Regions from separate parts of the Homo sapiens genome. Here region 1 is linked to region 2. The links are contacts of gene promoters, found by promoter capture Hi-C in blood cells and fetal thymus (Javierre and others, 2016). All regions are on one chromosome and are shown on one strand. The core of a region is centred on a gene start or on the middle of the fragment in contact, and the rest is flanking DNA. Distances in the headings are between cores, read along the strand shown.

Region 1 (5,540 bases), core at 2,951-5,450, 170 kb after region 2:
TGTTCTCTTCCCTTACATCTCTCCAAATATACAGTCTCTCTGTCTGTCTGTCTCTCTCTCTCTCTCTCTCTCTCTCTCTCTCTCTGTTCTAAGCCACCTAAAGCTGGGGGTGGAGTGACACAAGCAACCCTGTAGCCACCACCACTGTGACTGTGCTGGGTCAGACCTGAAGCCAGCACAGCACTGGGTCTTGCCCAAGGCCTGCTGTAACCACTCCCTGGTTACTGCCTGTGTTCACTCAGGGCTCTGGGGCTCCACAATCAGCAGGTGGCATAACCAGCCAGGTCTGTTTCCTTCCCTTCAGGGTGGCAAGGTCCCCCAGGCTCCAGGTGGGTCCAGAAGTGCCATCTGGGAGTCAGGGACTAGAGTGATAAACCTTAGAAGTCTACCTGGCGTTCTATTGTATTGCGGCTGAGCTAGCACTCACACCACAAGACGTAGTCCTTCCCAGTCTTCCCTCTTCTTTCCAAAGACAGAGGAGCCTCATCCAGTAGCCACCCCAGGCCACAAGGAGTACTGACAGACTAGTGCTGATGTTCCCTTAGGGTCCAAGATCTCTTAAGTCAGCTGGTCTTGACTGCTGCCTGGCCTGGGACTCACCCTTCAGATGGGACTCACTCTTCAGGAAAGTAGGCTCCCCTCTGGCCCAGGGCAGGTCCAGAAATGCCATTCAAGAGTCAAGTCATGGCAGGGACCCCAAGAGCCTCCTTGGTGCTCTACCTAACTTTGGCCATGCTGGCACCTAAGGTGCAAGACAAAGTCCCCTTTACTGTTCCCTCTGCTTTTCTCAAGCAGAAGGAGTTTTGGCCTGTAGTCACCACAGCTGGGAATGTGCTGAATCTCACCTGAAGCCAGAAGGCTCATCCAAGGCCCTCAACATAGTACCTGGGTATCACTGCTGGTTATTCAGGGCCCAAGGGCTCTCAAGTTAGCAGGTGATGAATGCTGCCGAGACTAGGTCCTTTCCTTCAAGGCAGCAGGTTCCTTTTCTGGCCCAGGGTGTATCTAGAAATGTGACTGAGCTGGTGTTCTAGATGCAAGACAAAGTCCCCCCTACTCTTCCCTCTCTGCTCCTCAAGCAGAAGGAAGGAGTCTCTTCGGAGCCACGAGCCATGCAGCTTGGGGTTAGAGGAGAGGTGGTACCAGTTCTTCCTTGGCTGCTCCAGCTGGTGTCTCAGTATGTTGCATGCCCTCCCCAGTCCACTGTCTCTGGGCCTCGCTCAGCACTGGAACTCACCTAGAGTTGCAGTCCTTATGGCCTGGATTGTCTTTCAAGTTTGCTTGGAGACACAGAGCGCTGTAGCCCTCGGTGGCGAGGTTTGGAGGCACTTAAATTACGACCGCTGATACCGGAGAGCCCCCTCTGACTCAGGCTGGTTTGAATGCTCCTTCCATGGGCTGGGCTGGCATCAGCTGAATTTGGTCTGGTTTTTCTTTCTGCTCTAACAGGACAGTGCTGAGTTCAATGCCTCTCAAATGCTGTGTTCTCCCTCCTGCAGCACCCAGAGATGCTCTCCTGCTGGTGAGGGTGGGTGGCTTTGGCGATTCCAAACTGTTTTTTCTGGTTCTTCAGTGCCTCTTTCAGCGATATGAAGTTAAAATAGGTACTGTGAGGGCTCACCTGATTTTTGGTTCTTATGAAGCTGTTTTTTCTGTGTAGGTAGTTATTGTTGTCCTTGCAGGGGAGATTTCCATCCCGCCATCTTGCCCTGCCTCTGGGATTATCTTTTGACTGTTTGGTAGACTTTGGTTGAAAAACTGTCTTGGACTGTGGGAAGGCAGTTAACAGGTGTTTGGGGGCAAGAAATGAGCCCTTTAGGCTAAATTTTCAAATCAATTGACAGAAAGTTGTCCTTAAGTCTGTCTTACAATTTTTAAAATCTCTATTGTATTTGTGGTTAAGTCCTCCTTTTCAGGCCTAATATTTGTGAGGTGAGATCACTACCTTCCCACAAGAGCCTGAGTAACATTCTTCCTAAAAACTCCTGTAGGCCGGGCGCAGTGGCTTACACCTGTAATCCCAGCACTTTGGGAGGCCGAGGCAGGTGAATCACTTGAGGTCAGGAGTTCAAGACCAGCCTGGCCAACATGGGGAAACCCTGTCTCTATTAAAAGTACAAAAATTACCTGGGCATGGTGGTTCTCACCTGTAATCCCAGCTACTTGGGAGGCTGAGGCAGGAGAATCACTTGAACCCAGGAGGCCAAGGTTGCAGTGAGCCTAGATTATGCCACTGCACTCCAGCCTGGGCAACAAGTGAAACTCTGTCTCAAAACAAACAAACAAACAAACAAACAAAAAACTCCTGTCTTCTTGCACCATCCCCTGTTCGCCTGAAGAAGTTCAAGCGAGTTTTCTGATTGGTGGGTTTGAGGAGGGCCTGGCCATGTGAGCTTGGCCCCTCCTCCTTCCCTTCTCTCTGGGACTCCAGGGATGGTGGCTACTGTGCATTTCACCTTCCTCATGCCCTGAGACTTACAGCAGCAGGCCGCCATGTGGAGGAGTCCCTCGCTGTCCAGTGTGGCCTGGGACTGGTTGGAAAAGTTCATCTTATTCTGGATTCAGGGTTAGGAAGCTCATCATCATGGCTCACCTAAGGCATGGCCTCCAGCAGAACTCATATCAATAATAAAGATGGTATTTTGAGCTTATCTGGTTAAATATTGAGGCAGAGAGTAGAGGCTGAGAAGGGTAGTAGGGGGTGGGGGGAGGGAGGGATAGTGAATGAGTACAAAAAATGTTGGAAAGAATGAATAAGACCTACTATTTGATAGCACAGCAGGGAGACTATAGTCAGTAATAACTGAACTATAGATTTTTAAATAACTTAAAGAGTATAATTGGAGTGTTTGTAATTCAATGGATAAATGCTTGAAGGGATGGATACCCCATTCTCCATGTTGTGCTTATTTCACATTGCATGCCTGTATCAAAACATCTCATGCACCCCCATAAATCTATATACTTATTATGTACCCACAAATATTAAAAATTAAAAATAAAGGAATACTGACTCCAGTTCTTACAGTGCCTAAACTGCTTGTCCAGAGTGAAGTGGACAATCCATGTGAATTTCCATCCTTGTGTTAAGGCCCATTACCAGCTTCTTGGTTTCAGGTACTAGATCATTAAAGATCCTCGTGGAAAGACCTGTTTTTCTTTCTCTTTTCCCCCTCAGTGCCGAGCATAGAGCTTACAGGTACAAAGTTTTCACAAAAACCCTGGCTTTAATTTAATTAGGAGTCCTTGTTAAATTTTAATAGTAGTCAGAGGTATTCCTGAATAGTGCGGGGGTGTCGTTTCTCTCTTTAAGAGATAGGATTTGTATCCCGAACAATACTCAGTAACCTGCAAGAGTTGACGGAAGTTCTGAAAGTGCTCATTTTAACTACTAAAATAATCTGGTTCAGTATGACTAATAATATTACATCCAGCTTTTTTTTTCTGTATTTTATCTAATAGGCCAGAAAATTTGCAGCATACGTAGTTGCTGCTGGACTCCAGTATGGAGCGGAAGGAGGCATGTTACACACATTTTTTAAGGTATGGCTTTCAATGATGACGTGGAATGTTTAAAAGTGTCTTACGATACAGATACGCAATTTGAAGGTGTTTTTGATTGCTTTGGGTGTGGTTAGTGCAGTAGAATAGCAGAAGATGAAGGCAAGTATGGATGTCACCACAAAGACCTACGTTTCTTTCCCATTATTAACTTGTATTCACCACTCTCAAAATAATAATGAAAAAGACGTATCTCCTTTCATTCATGAAACAGATATTGATGTAGTGCCCATCAGGTGCTGGAAACTGTTGTAGGTACTTGGGATACAGTAAAATAATAAAGTCCCTCCTCTTGCGAAGCTTACATTCTAGGGGGATGGAGAAAGAGATAGATAATAAGCAAGCCGGTAAATGTTGAGTATTTCAGATGTTGAAACAGGGTATGGAAAACAACAGAGCAGAGAAAGGCAGAGAGTGCTGGGGAGTAAGGTTGCGGGGATTGGGGCTGTTATATCTTATATAGGAAGGTTGAGGAAGGTCTTTCCAACGATGTGACATTTGAGTAGGAAGGGAAAGGCAATGAAGGAGCTGGCTAATCGGCTTTCTGGAGAAAGACATCCCAGACAGTGAGAATTGTTACTGCAAAGAAGTGAGGCAGAAATGTGCTGGCTACATTTGAAGACCAATCTAGATCAATCTAGCTGAAGTATGGGAGAACAGCGGTAATGAGGTCAAAGCGGTAATGAGAGAGTCAGACCAAGCCCAGCCTGGTAGCCCCTCGTGAAGCTCTGGCTTTCTTTCTGAGTGAGTTGGACAACCATTAGACTGAGCACAGAAGCAACATAATCCATATGATATAAAAGGACAGCTTTCTCCTTCTGCTGTGCTGAGGATGTACTATTTGGGGCATGGGCAGGAGCAGGAAGCAAGGAAACCAGTGAGCAGGGTAGTGCCTAAGACCTGGGTGGGCATGGTGGGGATACTGGAAACTGTTCAGATTTCAGACGTATTTTGAAGAGAGAGTCAATGGGATTTGTTCAAAGCTTGGATGTAAGGATGACAGAAACATAGTAAAGGATAACTTTAAGGATTTTGGTCTAAGCAACTAGAAGTATGGCACTGCCACTTATTGAAATGGGGAAGACAGGGAATGGAGCTGGTTGGGGTACAATGCAATGAAAAGTTCAGGAAGTTTGAGATAATTAATATCCAAGTATAGATACTGGGAAGGCTATTGGACAAAAAGAGTTTGGTGATCATGGGGGAGGTCAGGTCTGGAGATATAATCATGGGAGCTGTCAGTATACAGTGGGTACTTAAATCCTTGGGACTGGATGACATCAACTACTGAATGAATATGGAGAAGAGATAGGGGCCTGAGGACTGAGTCTTGGAACCCTCCAATATTGGAGGTTATAGGGAAATGGGAAGGAATTAGGAAAGGAGGTTGAGAAGGGTGGGCAGGAAGCAGGAGAGGAAATAAGAGAAAAGTAAATAATTATTAAAAAAAATATTTTTGGCCGACTCACGCCTGTAATCCCGGCACTTTGGGAGGCCAAGGCAGGCGGATCACAAGGTCAGGAGATCAAGACTATCCTGGCTAACACGGAGAAACCCCGTCTCTACTAAAAATACAAAAAATTAGCCGGGCATGGTGGCGGGAGCCTGTGGTCCCAGCTACTCGTTAGGCTGAAGTAGGAGAATGGTGTGAACCGAGGAGGCGGAGCTTGCAGTGAGCCGAAATTGCACCACTGCACTCCAGCCTGGGTGACAGAGCGAGACTCCATCTCAAAAAAAAAAAAAAAAAAGTTTTTAAAAAGAAAGAATGACAAATTGTGTCAGATACTGCAGATAATCAACTAAGATGAAACCTACAAATTGACCGCTAAATTTTTTGGCACTAGGTAGGACAAAAGTCTAACAGCCGCAGGTTCAAGAGGAACAGCTGGAGGGGAATTGAAGACAATGAGAACAGAGAAATATTTCAAGGAATTTTCCTGTAAAAGGAGGGGGGTGCAAAGAAAGAAGGCGGAGTTAAA
Region 2 (5,503 bases), core at 82-2,581:
CATTGTCAGGCCCTGGGGAGGAGAGAGTCCGTGGGCCAGGAGGCCATTCCAAGGTCAGTTTCCATGGAGTGGGGGAGAGGGTGTAGTGACTGGACTCCAAGACACTTGGGGGAATGGGGAGAATGGCAGTCCCCACAGCTGCACGGGAAGGGCTGGTCCTCACAGAATAGCAGCAAAGACTCATTCATTCCAGGAATGGAAAGAATGCCATGTTCTTGGAGCCTGGAGACAGGGTTTGAGAGGCTGGCAGCGGCTGGGCCACCAGGACCTCATCAGTGATAACCCTGTGATCAGTGTTCCAGCCCCTGCAGGTTTCCTGGAGAGCAGAGTGTCGTCAGAAGGCCTGGAGCTGAGCCAACAGGCAAGATCCAGCCTGCACATGTGTTTAATTTGAACCACATGGTATTTTTTAAAACTCCAAGCCCCCAGGCTCTTGAGTTGGTTACCAGTACTGAAACTCCCCATTGGGAGCCAGCTTTCCAGTTTCTTTTGAAAGTTTGGAACATCCAGCAACACTGATTCAATTTCATTCATTCAGCAGATATTTATTAAGCATCTACTTTGTCAGACACTGTTTTGGGCACTGAAAATATGGCAGTGAACAAAAGAGAGGAACATCCCTGGGCCCTTGGAGTTGACCTTCCAGGGTCCCCCCGGGGCTCCAATTCTTTGGTGCTGTGTAGCAGAGGCCCCGTGAACAGGGCGCCCTCCCATCAGGTTCACACGCATGGAAGCTATGGGAGGTTAAGTTTGCAACCCCTCATCCAGACCATCCCTTCACATACAGTCTAGGAAACAGAGAGCAGTAAGACCTGCCCAAGCACACCCAGTGCGACTCAGCAGCCACACACAGGAGTAGGCTCAGTCATCTCATTTAATCGCCTGACTCCCTTGTGAGGTCTGTTTCAGGATGTCCACTTTCTAGGTGAGGAAGAGGAGGCTAAGGAAGGCAGTGCCTGCTCAGACTGCAGAGGCTGGATTCACCCAACTCATCTGACTCCAACACCAATGTGATTTCCAAGCCCCCAGGCAGGAATTCATTGGGCAAAGGCTCTGTGGCAAAGTGGCAAAAGTAGGCAGGAACAGGCAGGAATAGAGAGTGGGAAAGGGAAAATAATACCTGATTCCTCTTCTATTCCGAGTGAGCTGACCCACATATGCCCTCCTTTCTTCTTTTTCAGCCGGCCTTAAGCAGGTGGCTTATCAAAATCCTTTCGAGGTCTTGCAAAAACCAATCCCACACTCGAGAAGAACGTGCTGGCCGGTGAAATCGGACAACATTGCTCACGGGATGTAATTCAATGGTAGACTGCAGCCACAGCCTGAGAACTCAGACACCTGATTTATGAGACGCACATAAGTAACGTTTACCGAAGCCCAGCAAATGGCCCCACAGTGGGAGAGAAACTGGCAAACCCGTACAGTAGAATTCTGTTGCCCTTCTGTGGGGAAGGCCAGTTATTCATTTACAGAGGGAGAAATTTCTGCCTTGACTAAAAGGATCGATGCTGTGGGAAAAGGTAATATATCTGAGTTCCCATGGATCTGGTTGATAGGTTCACCTGGCGTGTTCCATATGGGGCCAGGCCCAGGCCACACCTGTGGTGCTAACACCTGGGGTGGAGGGAGGAATTAGCAAATAGTCTTCCAGCATCCCCAGCTCCAGCACCCATGTGGGCTTCCACTCTCTCCCTGAGAAGGGCCAAGTAGAAAGAGAGAACAAGGTTTCACTCCAATCCGTTCCCAGCTCTGGGTCTGTCCTGGGCTCCAGAACCGCGTGATCAGGGGCCATATGTGGCCTTCACTGCTCTCTGCAGTGGGAAGGTAAGAAAACTGCCCCCACCCTGCCCCATCATCACCCCAATCCATCATGGGGAGTGGGTGGCACTAAGGCCCTCCAAATCCCAGCCTCGGGGAAACTCCCTGATGTTGCAATGGCCACAGGCAGGCTCTTGCTCTCCGGAGATGAGTCACAAATTTGATGAGGAGCAGGTCGGAAGCAGCCCTGGAAAGTGTTCCTCCCCACCCCTGCTCCCACCACAGCTCCGAGGAGCCTGGGCATCCAACCAGGGCTGATCCAAGCCTTGGCTCCGGCTGAGCTCCGCTCTGGCCTCTGTGCACCTTCAGCTCCTTCCTGCCCTTCTCTTTCCCTGTGCCCAGCCCCTTTCTCCAGACCCCCTTGATTCCTTCTCAGCATCCTCTTGCCTCCCCGGACCACCCCCAGCTCAGGCCCCTGCCCAAGAAGGGCCTCACCGCGGGGCTGCAGAGTGCACAGTGCAGCCGGTCAGAGGTCCAGGTCTCTGAGTCACACATGCCACTGTTCCAGTCCTCACTCCACCACCGCATGGGCCTGGCCGACCACCGAAACTCGGCATCCCATCTGTAAAATGGGAATGAGGAGAGCAGTGCCTCACTGTGTCGTTGTGAAAATTAAGTGACCCAAAAGGACGGCCTTATTCCCTTTTTGGAAAGAGGTAATGGGCAAAGAAAGGGAAGGAAAGGCGAGAAAGGACAAGAGGAAGGTCAGAGATGTATGTGAGACACCAGGACAGCGCCACCCCAGCAAGCACCAACAACCATTTTCTCCTATGAGCAGAAGAGGCTTTAACTATGACTGAAATGAATGCATGTCAAAGCACAGTCTGAATAAAATCCCAAAAATGGTGTCCGTGTCACTCTCCTGGTTGTGATATGGCACGATCCTTGTGTAAGATGTTACTATTGGGGGAAACTGAGTAAAGAATAATGGGGCCGGGCACAGTGCTCATGCCTATAATCCCAGCACTTTGGGAGGCCGAGACAGGCAGATCACATGAGCCCAGGAGTTCAAAGACCAGCCCAGGCAACATGGTGAAACCCTGTCTCTAGTAAAAATACAAAAATTAGCCAGGCATGGGGGTGCACACCTGTAGTATCAGGTACTTGGGAGAATGTGGTGGGAAAATCAGTAGAGCCCAGGGTTCAAGGCTGCAGTGAGCCATGATTGTGCCATTGCACTCCAGCCTGGGCAATAAAGTGAGACCCTGTCTCAGAAAAAAAAAAAAAAAAAGAATGAGTACAAGGCATCTTTCTTATCACTGTATGCAAATCTACTAAAAACCTTAAAAAGAATGCATCATTAAGTTCAACCACTCTGCCTTACAGATGAAGAAACCAAGGTCCAGAGACAAGCAGACTTGTCCAAGGTCACCGAGTAAGCAGGGCTCCTGCTGAAGGGCTCTGTTCAGACCCAAGATGCCCGCTGGGCCCTGGTGACAGGTCTCAGTCTCAGGCTGAGGTCAGAGAAGAGGCCTGAGTGCCAGGGTTCTCATTTGAGTGGCCATGATGATTGCAGAGACTCCCTATGGCCAGGATTGTGTTTAAGGCAGTAAACAGGAAGCCAAGCCTACTTTTCAGGAGCTTCAGGGGACAGAAAACTATCAGGAAGGATTGGTTGGGACCCAGCAAGTACGAGAGGAAGACATTTCAGGGCTTCAGTCAACAAGGGGCTCAGTGTACTGTAGCTGCCAAAATAGCTGCCAGCTCTCAGCTGCATTCAAAGGAGTATAGCCTCTAAAATGAGGAAGGTCATATTCCCTTAATTTAGCACTGGACAGGGTCCATTAGGAGTATTGTGTCCAGCTCTTGGCTGATTCCAAAGACAGGGATCAGACTGGTGAGAGGATGCAACAGCACACCCTCCAGACACATGGCGGCAGAGGGCTTACCACAGAAGATAAGACTTATGTGGAGAGAGGAACAAATGCACTTAGTGTTACCCCAAAGGGACCAAAGAGAAAAAAATCCTGAGAAACACTTTCTGTCTTAATTTAAGGATGGGCTCTTTGACAGGCAGAGCTGTCCCATGATAGAACTGATGGCCCTCAATGACGTGGGTTCCTGGTCTCTGGAGGAGCCCAGCGAAGCTGCAGGATCTCTTGGCAGGAGGCTGCAACAAGAATCCAGGAAGCATCTACTGCACACTCACCCTTGAGGAGCTCACTGCATGTAAGGGAGGCAGAAAAGAAAAGAGATCATTCCTCAGTGTGAGATGTCTCGTCATGGGGTGACGAAGTCTGCTGCAAGGAGTTCCAGAAGGAAAGGGGGTTCCTTGAGCTGGATCTTAAAGTTAAGTAGGACAATGAGAGTGTTGGCCACCTGCAACTTTTCCCTCACGCGAGTTCTCAGCCAACAAAATCAAGGGCTGGAAGATGTATGCCAATCCCAAGGAGTGACTGTTGTCCTCTGGGCCATGTGAGTCAGTGAAGACTGAACAAGGAAGTGGCATGTTTGGAACTGCATTTCAGAGAGATCACTTTCACTAGAATATGGATGATGGCTTGCACAGTGTATCAGTTATCTATGTTGCATAAAAAACCACTCCCACACTTAGTGGTTTAAAACAACCACCTCAACTCATAATTCTGTAATTGGCCATTTGGGCTGGGTTTAGCCGGGTGGTTCTTCTACTGGTCTTGGCTGGGCTTACTCATGAATCTGTGATCAACAGCCAGGCAGCTATCACTCTGCTTCTGGAGAATGGGCAGGAGGCTGCAGCAAGCACAAGGCCAACATCAGATGGAATTAAAACCCACTGATGGGGCCGAGAGTGGTGGCTCACACCTGTAATCCCAGCACTTTGGGAGGCCAAGGACGTCAGGAGTTCAAAACCAGCCTGGTCAACATGGTAAAACCCCATCTCTACTAAAAATACAAAAATTAGCTGGTCATGGTGGTGCATGCCTGTAGTCCCAGCTACTCGGGAGGCTGAGGCAGGAGAATGGCTTGAACCTGGGAGATGGAGGTTGCAGTGAGCCGAGATTGCACCACTGCCCTCCAGCCTGGGTGACAGAATGAGACTCCATCTTAAAAAAAAAAACCAAAAAAAAAACCCCACTGATGGGTTAGGTGAAATTATGGCAGACTAGGGAGTACTCCAGTCCTGACCTCCACAATCTAAGACAGAATCAGAGCAGCTTCTTCATTCATGGCTTTGTGTGTCCAACACTTACTGAGTGACCAATACATGGCATGTAAAAGTAAAATTGTAAAAGTAAAATATAAAATCCCACCTTCAGTGAGTTCACAGGATGTGAAAAAGCTCATCATGCCCATTTTATAGATGGAAAAACTGAGGCCCAGAATGCTTTGCCCCAAGACAGAGCAACTTCGTCAGTGTGAGGTCTGGGATCAAGTGCCAGCTCTTCTACTCTGAGTACTGTAGCCCAACACAGTGCTCCCTAGAAAATGGTTCCTGAGCAGCTTGTCTTTTGAATAGAAGTGCCATTTGGTCAATGTTGATTTGGGGTTGGGAGCTGGTGAAGGGCAGAAAATTCTTCTTCCTCATTCTTCTGTGGGAGACATTACTACTGCTCACTGAGAATTCCAGTTCTCCTCTTCTGAAAAATGGGAGGTTGAAGGTGCTAAACTTCCTCACCCTATAGAGACTAAGAATGGCTTCTTGCTTGCTTTGGCCAATGTAAGCAAAATTGTGTGTCACTTCTAGGCAGAAGAAAATTCAAGA

Evidence for each region. The method cuts DNA at HindIII sites, captures the fragments that hold promoters and counts their contacts. A CHiCAGO score of 5 or more calls a contact.
Region 1: a fragment that was not itself captured here is called in contact with the fragment with the promoter of BDKRB1-AS1 in region 2 in 1 of 17 cell types (activated CD4 T cells); the score reaches 6.7 in activated CD4 T cells.

The regions. Positions count from the first base shown.
Region 1 is chr14:96,434,373-96,439,912 of GRCh38, forward strand. AK7 (adenylate kinase 7) reads left to right here. Exons shown (of 18, transcript NM_152327.5): 6 at 3,463-3,543. Among named protein-coding and RNA genes, the nearest start is that of AK7, 45 kb to the left of the region's middle. The HindIII fragment of the contact is 683 bases long and covers 3,860-4,542 here.
Region 2 is chr14:96,267,249-96,272,751 of GRCh38, forward strand. It overlaps BDKRB1-AS1 (BDKRB1 antisense RNA 1), which reads right to left and starts at 1,332. Exons shown (of 2, transcript XR_007064322.1): 1 at 1,121-1,332. RefSeq lists an enhancer at 1,407-2,606. The HindIII fragment of the contact is 7,907 bases long and covers 1-5,503 here.